Linked DNA regions of Homo sapiens: region 2 is linked to region 1. The links are contacts of gene promoters, found by promoter capture Hi-C in human tissues and cell types (Jung and others, 2019). All regions are on one chromosome and are shown on one strand. The core of a region is centred on a gene start or on the middle of the fragment in contact, and the rest is flanking DNA. Distances in the headings are between cores, read along the strand shown. Region 1 holds the start of MGAT5B (alpha-1,6-mannosylglycoprotein 6-beta-N-acetylglucosaminyltransferase B). Region 2 has its middle 18 kb from the start of MIR6516.

The links. Contacts are between HindIII fragments. The study calls those that stand out against the background at their distance.
Region 2: a contact is called between a fragment that was not itself captured here and the fragment with the promoter of MGAT5B in region 1, in 9 of the 25 tissues and cell types used here (heart left ventricle, liver, lymphoblastoid cells and 6 more).

The regions. Positions count from the first base shown.
Region 1 is chr17:76,867,099-76,871,077 of GRCh38, reverse strand. MGAT5B (alpha-1,6-mannosylglycoprotein 6-beta-N-acetylglucosaminyltransferase B) reads right to left here and starts at 2,674. Exons shown (of 18, transcript NM_001199172.2): 1 at 1,981-2,674. The coding sequence starts at 2,048. RefSeq lists a silencer at 2,530-2,839 and an enhancer at 3,177-3,471. The HindIII fragment of the contact is 29,656 bases long and covers 1-3,979 here.
Region 2 is chr17:77,105,524-77,109,152 of GRCh38, reverse strand. It overlaps a transcript of SEC14L1 not described here. Among named protein-coding and RNA genes, the nearest start is that of MIR6516, 18 kb to the right of the region's middle. RefSeq lists enhancers at 1,282-1,611, 1,725-2,389, 2,452-2,501. The HindIII fragment of the contact is 6,923 bases long and covers 1-3,629 here.

The DNA of each region.
Region 1 (3,979 bases), core at 1,425-3,924:
CTGCCTGCCAGGATCCAACAACCCTGCTATGAGAAAGGTGTCTACCCCCTTCAGCCCAGAACCTGAAGCCCCCTAACACACCTCATCTGCATCTCCCTCTGCCAGAACCCCATCCTGGGGTTCAATGTCCCCCAAGGCAGCTGGGGGCCATTTGGAGTGGATTCAAGTTAAAATGGCTTCAGCCATCCATGTATCCACTCAAGCAACATTCCAGGGGCACCTATGGAATAAAGACCCTGCCAGCAGCCCTGGGAAAACCACAGGGAACAGGACCCCAGCCTGCCTTTGAGGATGAATAAGCTGGGGTGCTATGATTGCAGCCTGCCCCCCACCTCAACTGAAGGGACTCACTGATGGCTGCGGGTCTCCGGGCAGCCCAGGGAGACCCTGGGGTGAAGTTACACAACTTTGGGGACCCATGCACCTCCACCCCCAATCCTGCCTTCAGATAAGGGCCTGAAAGAAAACCAGGGCAGGACCAGACAGGGAAGCAGCCCTGGGTCGCGAGCACTGTCCGTGGTGCTGGGGTCTCGCGGCTGCTTCCAATCGCGCCAGGAAACACCCAGCGGCCCGGAGGGCGGGACAGGGATGGGGTCGGAAGGGGCGAGGACCCTCCAGCGTTCCCAGTCAGGCCAGGGATTCAAGGCCTTCCCTGGAGGAGCAAGGCCCTTTCCAGAGACGCCTGCTTCCCGCCCTGCTTCCCATGGGCTCCCGACGCCCCCATCACCACCCACGGCCTGCACCAGCTCTCCGGGCCTCCCGGACCCCCGGACCGCAGAGGTCCAGCCTGACCCCTGCCGTCCCCTGGGGTTGCCTCCTCGGCCCAGCAGACAGGCCCGGTGTGCTGGGAGGCGGGCTCCAGGTGAGCCACCGTCTCCCCGCCCCCATCCCCGTCTGGAGCCGGCAGGGGGACCACAGTGGGGCTGGGCCGAGACCTGGAGGGCAAGAGTTCAGGGCCCCTGCAAGCTCCGCCTTCTCGGGCTCCTTCCCGCGCCCGGAGCCCACCTGTGGCCACGTCCCGAGTCCGGCCCCCGCGCCGGGGCGGTCACTCCCCCAGCTTCCTCGCTGCCCAGCTACCCACGGGGTGACACTCGGGCCCCGCCGGGCGTCCACTGGGCAGCGCCCCCTCCCCACCCCGCTGCGGGCCGGTTCCGCGGATGCCTGGGAGGAGAGGGGGCTGCCCCGGCACCGCTGGGCCCTGGGGGCCCCTGGCTGGGTCCAGTGAGTCCCGCGCGGCCCCAGCCCTGCCTGGCCTGGGCCCCCAGGTGTTGGCCGCCCGAAGCGTGTCGCCTTCGCCACCGCCCGCCCACCACGCTCCGCCGCAGCCTCGGCTCCAGCCGCCCCGTAGCCCTGCAGCGCCGCCCCTGCCCCCGCCTCTCCGACGCCTGCGATCGGGGGCGAATCCTGGGATGAGCGAGTCCTCGCTCTAATCTCGGGACCCTCTCGTCGGAGCCAGGCCCGAGCCCCGCGGGGAGGAGAGCAGTGCCACCAAAGGCTGGGGAGAGGGTGGCACAGGCGGAGGGGTTGGGGGGTAGCCGACCTAGGGGCAGACGGGCGGGACGGGAGGGACCGGAGGGGGAGCTCCAAGGCGCCGCACACTAACTTTGCCACCCGGATGGGACCGTCCGCGGGGTGAGGAAGGACCCTGAGGGGCTGGGAAGGGGCGCGCAGGCTGGGGCAACTTTCTGGGCCCAGGACCACGACCTGGGGGTTTTCTGCCCCCATTCTTACCTCTGCACCCCGAGTCCTCTCCAACCCTGCCCAACTCGGGACAGGTCCCCGAATAACACAACCCTCCCCATCCGCACCCCGAACCCCAACGCCATCCGTTCCCCCAGCCCAGCCCCACTGGTCATCACCAGGGGTTGAAGTGTGAACCGCCCCCTCTGCCACCAGGACTTGAACGTTCGCAGGAACCGACCTCGCCCACCTCCACCCGGCGCCCCCCTGGGGAAAAAACCAACCAGGAGGGAACTTTACCGAAAGGGTCTCAGGGTGACCAGGCATCTTCTGACCATTATCTTCCCATCGGGGTTGACGGTGATCATTGTTCAAACTTGTTGGTGCGAGCAGCCGCGGGCGAGGCCGGACGCACCGTCCTGGGCCCAGCTCTCGCCGCGTCCGGGCCACGAACCCTCTGCGGGCCGAAGCCGCGTCCGAGCGAAGCTGGGAGCGCGCGGCCCGGTGGCCTCGCTGCTCAGGCCTGGGCGTGCAGCGGAGGGAGCGGCGCGGCTGCCGGAGGGCGGCGAGGGCGCCCGGCCGGGCCGTCTCTGCGTCTCCGCCCTCCCCGCTTCACATTTTGGGGACCGGGAGGCGGCGCGCCCCCAGACCGCCGGCCGCGCGTCTGCCTGCTCGGGCTCGCTCGCTGGGCGGGAAGGTGCCGCGGCGCGCAGACGGGCTCCCCGCGGCGGGCGCCCTCATCCCCGGCCCCGCGCCCTCGGTGCCGGCTAAAGGCGGCCCCGGGCCCGCGCCCCGGTCCCCAGCGCCTCCGGGCCGCGCCGATCCTCAGCCCCGCGCCGCGCCGCGCCCATGGCTCTCGACGAGGGCAACCCGCGCCCGCCGCGCGCTCTCTCGCCCGCTGGCTCCGCCGCCCGCGCTCTGGTGTCCGGCGTCCGGCCCCGCGCGACGCTACGCCCGGAGGCGCCGCATTGTTCCTCGGAGGAGGCGGCCGAGCGGCGCTGGGGCGGCCCGGGAGCTGCAGCTGCGCTTCCAAGGCGCGCCGGCGCCACCTCGTGGCCGCAGCCCCGCTGTGCGCCCTGCCCGGGGCCGTGCGGGGCTGGGACGCCGAGGACCAGCTTCGAGGACGGGCGGGCGGGGGTCCCTGCTCCTTCCCCTGAGCCAAGCAGCTTCCCAGGGCGCCACCAGCCCCGAGGGCCGAAAGCTGCTTTGGCTCCCGCAGAGCACAGAAGAGATGCGCACCCAGCGGAGACCCTTCTCTTCTGCCAGGTGCCTCCGTGGGCTTCCTCATCAGCCGCTTCCCACGATTTCGCTTGGCAACACATGCCTATCTTCTGCCCCTCCCTGGTCAGAAACTCCCGTGGCTCCTCTTTGCTTACTGATCTGAGTATAAACTCGGCCTGTGGTGCTGGGGCCCGCTCACAGAGCCAGGCGCAGGGGCGTACTGAGTTGTAGCCCCAGATCCTCCACTAGCCAGTGGGCGATCAAGTGTGCACGTCTCAGAGTCTCCATTATGAAATGATAGTGACCAGAAGCTCACCAAGGTCCCTTGCAACCCTAAAGCATGTAGGATCTCATGTCGTCTCTTAGCATCTAGGCGTCCTCCCCTCCCCCTCCTCGTACTTCCTGGCTCTGGAGATGTGTTTGCAGTTGCAGAGACAGAGACTCCTGGGAGCTCGCAGAGCCAGCCTGAAGAAAGCTCTCCGGCTTCAAAAGCACTTCCCGAGGTCATATCTGACCACCCCACCCTGGGAAGTGCCCAAAGCCTCAGTCATGTGTCAAATGACTCTGAGGGTCTTCCCAGCTCAGGCCACGATGCTGCAGCCTGGCTTATGCGAGGAGGAGACTTTATTTTCCTCCAGCTGGGCCTGGTCCCCTCCAATCCCCCATACCCAGGCCCCTTGCTGCCTGCCCTGCCCACCTCCCGGCCCCCTTCCTGGGCCATTACTCACTGGCCATGACTCACGCTCTCTGCTTTGCTGCTCCTTCTTCATCAAAATTTACCGGTGCTGAGTTCCATTATCTCACTGCCTTGCTCTCTGCTAATGTGAAAATGGGTGATAAATTGGTGTTAGCAGATATAATGTGTTACACAGGCTAGGTAACAAATTTGCATTGAACAAGGACATGCTGACCGTGCCTTTGTGCAGAAGAGTGATGAATGGTGGCCGGAAATTTGGGCATCGTGGCAGGCTGGCTAAGGAGATGTTGGAGGGCAGAGGTCTCTGCCAGGCCTGTAAATCACATCTCATGCCTGGGTGCCTACATCTGCCACAAATCCTGGCAATAAGCCATATCTACA
Region 2 (3,629 bases), core at 525-3,024, 240 kb before region 1:
TTCAGCCCTTAGTCTATAAAGCCAAACCCCAGGCTGGGTGCGGTGGCTCACGCCTGTAATCCCAGCACTTTGGGAGGCCAAGGCAGGATGATCACCTGAGGTCAGAAGTTTGAGTCCAGCCTGACCAACATGGTGAAACCCCATCTCTACTAAAAATACAAAAATTAGCTGGTGTGGTGGCTGGCACCTGTAATCCCAGCTACTTGGGAGGCTGAGCCAGAAGACTCGCTTGAAACCGGGAGGCAGAGGTTGCAGTGAGCTGAGATCAAGCCACTGCAGTTCAGCCTGGGTGACAGAACCAAACTCTGTCTCAAAAAAAAAAAAAGAAACAGATGACATATACATTCTTTTTTTTTTTTTTTTTTGGAGACAGAGATGAATGTATATATACATGTCAGCTGTTTCTTTTTTTTTGAGACAGAGCCTGGCTCTGTCGGCCACACTGGAATGCAGTGGCATGATCTTGGCTCACTGCAACTTCCGCCTCCCAGGTTCAAGCGATCCTCCTGCCTCAGCCTCCTGAGTAGCCCAGACTACAGGCATGCACCACCATGACTGGCTAATATTTTTGTATTTTTAGTAGAGACAGGGTTTCGCCATGTTGCCCAAGCTGGTCTCAAACTCCTGACCTCAAGCCATCTGCCCGCCTCTGCTCCCAAAGTGCTGGGATTACAGGCGTGAGCCACCACACCTGGCCTATACATTCATATTCTATGCTGGGGTCCCATCCCTCTGGCCCTCTGTTTCAGTTACCTGTGGGAAGAACCCACACGAACCATAGGGCTGCCACCTCCCAACTGTCCAGAGGAGACACACTGGACCCAGGTCTGTAGCAAGGGCTTCCTGCCGGACAGAACTGGGTTATGACGACCACGTTTAATGCAGAAACTCGGGACTCTGGATGGGGAAAGTGGAGCTCAGATAGTGCCGAGATGAGTCATCACCATGGGCTTTATTGAGCACATTTATATGGCAGCACTGCACACTCGCCCAAACAGCTGGAGGAAAGCTGCTCAAATGGGGAGAATCTAAGTCCGTGTGTGTGTGCGTGCGCATGGTATGGGGGGGCATGGAACAGGGGGCTGAAAACTGACACAAACATTTATACTGGCTGGGAGCAGTGGCTCACACCTGTAATTTTAACACTTTGGGAGGCGGAGGTGAGAGGATCGCTGGAGCCCAGGAGTTTGAGACCAGCCTGGGCAACATAGTGAGACCCCGTCTCTGTTTTTAAATAAATAAATAAAAAGTCAATACCAAATTGTGTTCAGAGACTGTGGGCTAAAACCAGCCAGCATGGCTCCTTTCTCAAAGGGACTTTCAGGCATCTGTGATAGTGTCAGCAAGCTCCAAGTAAAGCTTGAAAACCAACTCAGCCGTCAGCGCGTGGGAAACCTTTAGAACGCCACTGTGGAGAAGCCTTTGCTGTTGTTGCAAGAAAGTCAAGGAGGGCACCTTTACGTCACCGGGAATCCCCCAAGCCCCTCGGTGTGTGAGGAGGTTGCGGTTTATTCTGCCATCCACCGTTGTGGGTGGGGATCTTCTGACCTGGTCTACGGACTCCTGTATCTCATTTCTCTTTCCTGTTTTCTTGGACTTTCTCAATCTCTCTCCCCCTCTCTCCTTTTCATCTATGTCTTCATTAACTAGCATAACATAGAATAGAAATATATAATAGATTTTTTGTTTACTGAAAATACTTTTGAATTTTTTTCCATTTTTCATTAGTTTGAAACTACACGAAGGAGACTCTTTCTTTTCGTTCCTACCCAGCGCTCAATAGCTGTGTGACCTTGGCAAGTGATCGTCCCTGAGCCTCCATCCCTGTCTTTAAAGTGGAGATAAGGATGCCAGTCTCAGAAACTGTTCTGAGGATTAAATACCCAGAGCCTGGTGCCTGGAGCCTGGACCCCGGAGCCCGGAGCCTGGCGTGGGCTAAGTGGTCCTGAAGTGGAAGTGAGTTTTTGTTTGTGGCTCTTTGTTCTTTCCCCTGTGGGTCCACGGTGGTTGGCTGAATAAATTAGATTCTCCCCTGCCCCAGACTCTCAAGTCATTAAAGCTCTTCATTGATCAGCTGCTTCTCTCCAGTACTTAAGTGATCCTTGATGGTATATTACACCCCATGGGGGATGTGTGAACTCTTTTAGGTGATATGCAAATTACTGCTTTTCTGCAAAATGCCACCCTGGTGGCCGGATACAAGCATTCATGGGGAGTCAGCAAGGTGAACAGCAAAGAAAAGCCCGGGGCTGGAGAAGGAGAACGCAGCCTATTTCTCTCCTGAGAACCAAATAATTTTTCTTTTTTATTTTTTTTGAGAAAGGGTCTCACTCTGTTGCCTAGGTTGGAGTGCAGTGGCGCCACCAGGGCTCACTGCAGCCTCAACTTCCTGGGCTTAAGTGATTTTTCTCACTTCAGCCTCCTGAGTAGCTGGGACCACAGGTGCGGGCCACCACACCCAGCTAATTTATTTATTTATTTATTTTTTGAGATGGAGTCTCGCTGTGTTGCCCAGGTAGAGATGGGCTTTCACTATGTTAGCCAGGCTGGTCTCGAACTCCTGACCTCAGGTGATCCACCCGCCTCAGCCTCCCATAATTTTTTTGTTGTTTTATCTTTTTGAGATAAAGTCTCACTCTGTTGCCCAGGCTGGAGTGCAGTGACACGATCTCGGCTCACTGCAACCTCCGCCTCCCGGGTTCAAGCGATTCTCCTGCCTCAGTCTCCCGAGTAGCTGGGACTTCAGGTGCGTGCCACCACGTCCAGCTAATTTTTGTATTTTTAGTAGAGACGGGGTTTCACCATATTGGCCAGGCTGGTCTCAAACTCCTGACCTTGTGATCCGCCCACCTTAGCCTCCCAAAGTGCTGGGATTACAGGTGTGAGCCACCACACCTGGCCTCCTATAATTTTGAAATTATTTGTAGAAGACAGTCTCACTATGCTGCTCAGGCTGGTCTCCAACTCCTGGGCTCAAGCCATCCGCCAACCTCGGCTTCCCCAAGTGCTGGGATTACAGGCGAGAGCCACCATGCCCTGCCAGAACCAAATAATTTCAATGTCCCCTGGCCACGGAGAAGGAAAGTACAGGGTGATTTCCTTGATTCGTGGCAAAATTAGGTAGACGAACTGATATCCAGACTGACTTTTCCTTTTTTTTTTTTTCCTCTGAACTCTACTTATCTGCTTAAAAACAGAATCTCTCAAAATAATTCAACTGTCACAAATCCCCTCCCTGGGGCTTTTTAGGGAGTTTTGCACTAGGGAAGATTGTCTCCTCTCACCAGTCCCTCACCAGGATAAGCAATCACCTAAACAGCTGTTGTCACAAGACTAACATAAATCCCACCTGTGCTCCTCTGGGCCCATTCATCCTTCCTAAGAGTCCCCTGCTTCATGAAGATGGTATACAAGCCCCAGATCCTAACCACTTAACCTTGAGTCACATTTTTCTGTGAACTCTGGTGTACATGAATGTTTAAAAGTCTTTTCTCCTGTGAATCTTTCTTTGGTCAGTTTAATTTGCAGGCCTCCAACCATGAACATGAGGGTAAAGTTTTTCCTCCCTGACACAGGAGTTCACATCTCTGCACTATATCCTTACCATCATTTAATCTTTCGGAGGTTAA